Linked DNA regions of Homo sapiens: region 2 is linked to region 1. Evidence: promoter capture Hi-C in 16 types of primary human blood cells and fetal thymus (Javierre and others, 2016). All regions are on one chromosome and are shown on one strand. Each heading gives the region's core, a stretch centred on a gene start or on the middle of the fragment in contact. The rest is flanking DNA. Distances are from core to core; before and after follow the strand shown.

Region 1 (2,726 bases), core at 131-2,630:
TTCAAAAATTCACCTAAACTCCCAAACTCCAAATACATGTTCATAAATAATAACGAAAGGAAACTGTTTGATTTATAGGTTTTATAGACTAAGAATGTACTTTTTCTGCTCTTCCACAGTCTCCTAAGAATCGGCATGTCTTGGTGATCAGACGGACCTAGATTTCAGTCTTGCCACTACTAGGACTGGCCAGCATAAAGTTTTCTGAGCTTCAGTTTGCTCATTTGTTAACTGGTAGAAACAATACCTAAGTGGACTAAATTATTGAGAGCATTAGATAACATTACTGGAAGCAGAAGCAGGTAAAAGTAGTTCAAATACTGAAGCCAGACAGACCTGGCTTCAAAACTAAGCTCTGTTAATTACTAGCTATGACCCCGATAGTTATTTAACTATTCTAAACCTAGCTTAATCTGTAAAATGGATAAGGTGGTTGTGAGGATTAAATAAGATAATGCATACGGAACATCATACATTCCTGGTTACACAAAGGCCCCCTACCAAGTGCTTTACCTAGTGCAGAAATTTTCTGGTAAAGGAGTAATGAGGGAAACACCACACGCTCTCGATTTCATTTATTTCCTTCAACAAACTTTACTGAGCGCTTACCATGTGTTTGGGAGCTGTGTATTTGGCCCAGTACTTCAAAACTCAAACAATGCACGTGTGAAAATAAATAGGAGAAAGTGCCTCCCACACTTCTATATCATTCCCCAGCAACTGTCAGACACCTGGACCTCAGGCCCTTTCCTCGCCCCGCCACAGGTGGGGCTCTTCGAGGTCTGCCCTCCGTTTTCTAGCCTAGGCCCGGCCTCTCTAGGTGTCGCATCAGCCTTGACCCTAAGGGGCTGCCCTCCAGTCACCTGTCCAGGGATACGCCCCCAGCCCTGGAAGCCCCGCTCGCTAGGTCCCTCAGCCTACTCCCCCAGGCGCTGGCTCAGGTCCCCCCTCCTGCGCTCCCTGGTTCCCGCGCTCTGCGCCGGACAGTACCTGCAGGCCACTCCGCTTGTTCCAGGTGAAAATGGACCCAGGGTACCCGCTCAGAGCCAAGAGCAGTTCGTGGATCATTCCCACGGCGGACCTCGAGTCCCTGGTTATGTCACCCCCTCCTCCAGCGCACCTCCAGGCGACCACGAGGGGAGTGCTTCCCCTTCCACACGCGCACCGGCCCCTGGGTCGGGCGGTTTGTGCCGAATCAACCCACCGAGACAATCGCTGCGGCGGAGCGGACGGGAAGCTGGGAAGGGGTCGCGGGGGAGTCCCGGAAGTTCGGCAGCTCAACGGGGTCCACCAGCTACTCCCGCCCGGGCTCTGCGGAGACTGAGTCGCGGTCGCTGCCCTCGCGCATGCGCCCTCGGTGCCCCGAGCCGCCCGCTCGGACTTCCGGTTTGGGAGCTGTACTTGGGAGGCTGGAGAGCCGGGGCCGGGGCCGGGGCCGGGGCCGGGGTCAGGGTCGGACCCCGAGTGGGTGAGGCTGGCCCGGAGGCAAGGATGCGAGGGGGTTGAGGGGCAGCTCGAGAGGGAGACGCTCCCAGGGGTGGGCTGGAGGGCGCCCTCAGGGCGCCTTAGCCGGGTCAGAGGCCTCTGGAGGGACCGCACGACGGCTCCGGGTTACCCGGCCGGAGGGAGCGGAGACAAAAGAGGCCAGAATCCCGCAGCCGCTGCTCCTTGGGCTGAGAGCTCTGCGTCCGCGAACCGGCAGCACCTGGAGCCTCTGGCCGACACCCGAGCCCGTCCTCAGGAAGCCCGTTACTACTGCTCCTCGGATTCCGTCTCTCCTGCCCAATGTGACTCTCCCCAAGCCCCCATGGTCCTCGCTTTGGAGCCAAAACCAGCTTCTCTCCTTGCGCGAGGTTTTCCGACAGGTAGCTCCCTAATCCTTGCTGAGCGGCTACTACTACGCGGGGAAAACAAAGACCCGAGATTCTGGACGTGATTTTTGCCTGGGGTGGGCTTTGGGAGTTGTGCAGCCCGAGGGGGCGGGGCGGACGCAGAAGGCCTCGGGAAGGACTGCGGAGATACTGGGGGAGATCAGCTGCGACCAGCTGGACAGAGGCTTTTTGTTGCCTTCAAGCAGGATGGTGACTTGTCTTTAGATCCTCTCGAACTCCAGCTCTCCTATATGGTTCGGACTCACTGTGCAACATTGGCCAGGGAAGTTAAATGGGATCGGATTTGGAGGAGGTGGGAGAGGGGCAGACAGTACTTTTATTCTCTGCTGCTTCCTGGGGCTGCCCTGGAAGTCAACCAGAAAAGCAGTTTTTGCAAAGTCTATTTACTGAAGATTGTGCTACCTTAGAAGGCCACTCGGAGCACATGGAAAGGCAGGCCAGCTCTGGCAAGACTTTAGACATATGAATGTATTCCTTCTGATAGTGCCATCTTTCTCTGCCCTAGGAAGAAACACCTCTTACAGTCATCTGCAGGGGATTCTCCAAGGACATGGGAAGATAGATGTAAGCCCTGGAACCCAGACTCCTAAGCGAAGGGAAGCTGCATTCTGCTATTAATGATGGCCAAATCAGCTCTAAGAGAGAATGGCACTAACTCTGAGACCTTCCGACAGCGTTTCAGGAGATTCCATTACCAGGAGGTGGCTGGGCCGCGGGAGGCTTTCAGCCAACTCTGGGAACTTTGCTGTCGGTGGCTAAGGCCGGAGGTGCGCACCAAGGAGCAGATTGTAGAACTGTTGGTGCTAGAGCAGTTCCTGACCGTCTTACCTGGGG
Region 2 (2,726 bases), core at 98-2,597, 400 kb before region 1:
TGAGAGTTTAAAGAGATTTTAGTTAAATAAACCCAATTAGCCTAGCACGGTGGCTCACGCCTGTAATCCCAGCACTTTGGGAGGCCAAGGCAGGCTGATCACCTGAGGTTAGGAGTTCAAGACCAGCCCAACCAACATGGAGAAACCCCATCTCTACTAAAAATACAAAATTAGCCGGGGTGGTGGCGCATGCCTGTAATCCCAGCTACTCGGGAGGCTGAGGCAGGAGAATCGCTTGAACGGTGAGCCGAGATCACGCCATTGCACTCCAGCCCAGGCAACAAGAGCGAAACTCCGTCTCAAAAAATAATTAAATAAATAAATAAACCCAATTAAAGAACTATGTTTAAGGTTGTGTGTTTACGTCTGTGTATATATTTGTGGGGATATGGGACAATTCACTTACTTCATATTTCTTTGGATTTAGCTTCTTGTTGGCTGGAGAGAAGTATATGGTAGGAAAACTGGGGAAAGAAACATTTATTAATTTCAAGCAGTTATGTGGGCCCATACTGCAGAACTCTTAAGCCAAGAAGGAATCAGTGGTTCTGCCTTCAACTGAATATGAAAACTATGTCTAGTAATGATTTCCTGGTGGTTACAAGCTTTATTCCTATCTATTGCCTAGACACTTTTGTTAAGTTTTAAGCCACTTACCCTCTGACTTCATATGGAGAAGGCACATCATTGGCTGTGGCATCCATCTTGGCTATGACGATATTTGGGTCTTTGCTGAGCTGTTAATAAAACAGGTTAAATGTTTACATTTCAAGTTTTCAGTGACAGAGGGACACTTAGTCAATTGAAGACTTAAAACAATCTCATTCTTCAAACACTAAAAATACAAAAATTAGCCGGGTGTGGTGGTGCGCACCTGTAATTCCAGCAGATAAACTGCTGTTCATGTGGGAAGAGTGGTTTGCAGATGGTAGTACCTCACTTTCCACAAGCTTCCCTTTTTTCTCTTGTATTAAGACTCTACATATTGCCACCTTCAAATTTACCTGGTCTGAATAAGACATTACAGGGGCTAAGCCAAATGTTTTAAGATGAAGGACCATATGGATTCATGTAAGCCATTACCAAAATTCAGAAGTCCTTAGATATTTTTAACCATTATCTAGATTGAGCCTGAGGAATGGAATGTTAAAAGTGGGTATCTCAGGCACTGCACAGGCTGGAGCACTAGGGGGCAGTCACGAGAAAGTGAGTAAACAGCAAGTAATTGGGAAAAAAATCTATCAGTACTTAGGAACCAACCAAATTAGCCAATGCTGAATACATACATAAACTTACTGCTCCCGCTCAAATGTTATCCTCAGAATAGGGTTCACACTTACCTTCTCGCCAAGTTCTTTATACTTGGGCTCCAGGTTCTTACAGTGACCACACCAAGGGGCATAAAATTCAATCAGCACATCTTTATTTTCATTATTCACTATTTCATCAAAATTCTCTGCTACCACTACCTGGAAAACACAGAAGAATCTCTAGTTGGTAACATAAAAAAATAAATTCACAACTGTATTTGTTCCTAGACCCAATCCCTCTCTAATTTGATGTGTTACCACAGAAAATAAGTCATGGAAACCCAAATCACATTTACAGATTGTATTAAAGATGTTGTCATTCACTAGATACCAACTCGTTCCTATGTCTGTCACCTGTCAAACTATGTTCAGGAAGTTACAGGACATAGAAGTGCTACCCAACCATTCCTTAAAATAATTTCAAGCCAAGCTTGGTGGCACATGCCTGCAGTCCAAGCTACTCAGAAGGCTGAGGCAACAGAGTAAGACCACATCCCTATAAAAAATTCAAAGCAACACACTGTTCTTAGGGGTTGCTCTATCCTCAAGAGTAACTTAGCCCAATATAAATTTCATCAGAAAATTCTACGCAGGCTTTACACGCTTGCCCCTACCAAGCATTATGAGCCCTGCCAATGCTTTTTTTTTTTTTGAGATGGAGTTTCGCTCTTGTCGCCCAGGCTGGAGTGCAGTGGCATAATCTTGACTCACTGCAACCTCTGCTTCCTGGGTTCAGGCGATTCTCCTGCCTCAGCCTCCCGAGTAGCTGGGCTTACAGGCGCCCGCCACCATGCCCGGCTGATTTTTTTGTGTTTTTAGTAGATACGGGGTTTCACCATGTTGGGCAGGCTGGTCTCAAACTCTTGACCTTGTGATGTGCCCGCCTTTGCCTCCCAAAGTGCTGGGATTACAGGCATGAGCCACCGCTTGGCCTGCCAATGCTTATTTTATGACTCGGGAGTAAGGACAAAAAAAAAAAGAGATGGCCAACGAAGTCTTCATTTAGACCCCACAGTTTTGGAACAAAGAAATGAGGACAGGCAATTGCTCATAGCTTGATGAGGCTGTGAGCACCTCACCTTCACAGGCCCATCATTGCTCTCTGGGATAGGTTCAGACTTCAGGTATCTCTTCAGATTGCCATCAAAGTAATCCTGCAGGAACCTCTCCAGAGCCTTCCCATCACGCCTACAATTGGAAAACAAGGGTAAGGCTTGTTAATCTATTCCCACCGCTGAGAAAATTACAGCAATTTCTTTGAATAGTTACTATGTATTTTAGCTTTTCAAGGCTAAAAAAGGGGGACTCTCATCTCTCAATATGCAGAACTACCGACTGAAGAAACAAACCGTTCCTTTTATTTCTAGTGTGTTCTTTGTGGATTACAAAGTTCAGAGAAAGGAGAATCATTGGTCT

What was found. Contacts are between HindIII fragments. The CHiCAGO score rates a contact against its expected background, and 5 or more counts as called.
Region 2: a fragment that was not itself captured here is called in contact with the fragment with the promoter of ZSCAN29 in region 1 in 2 of 17 cell types (erythroblasts and megakaryocytes); the score reaches 6.1 in erythroblasts.

Annotation. Positions count from the first base shown.
Region 1 is chr15:43,369,697-43,372,422 of GRCh38, reverse strand. It overlaps ZSCAN29 (zinc finger and SCAN domain containing 29), which reads left to right and starts at 1,380. Exons shown (of 6, transcript NM_001372080.1): 1 at 1,380-1,865; 2 at 2,398-2,726. The coding sequence starts at 2,510. It overlaps TUBGCP4 (tubulin gamma complex component 4), which reads right to left and starts at 1,322. Exons shown (of 18, transcript NM_014444.5): 1 at 991-1,322. The coding sequence starts at 1,068. RefSeq lists an enhancer at 1,192-1,311 and a silencer at 1,412-1,681. The HindIII fragment of the contact is 4,998 bases long and covers 1-2,726 here.
Region 2 is chr15:43,768,261-43,770,986 of GRCh38, reverse strand. PDIA3 (protein disulfide isomerase family A member 3) reads right to left here. Exons shown (of 13, transcript NM_005313.5): 9 at 2,390-2,498; 10 at 1,341-1,469; 11 at 658-737; 12 at 407-464. Among named protein-coding and RNA genes, the nearest start is that of ELL3, 7.3 kb to the left of the region's middle. The HindIII fragment of the contact is 790 bases long and covers 953-1,742 here.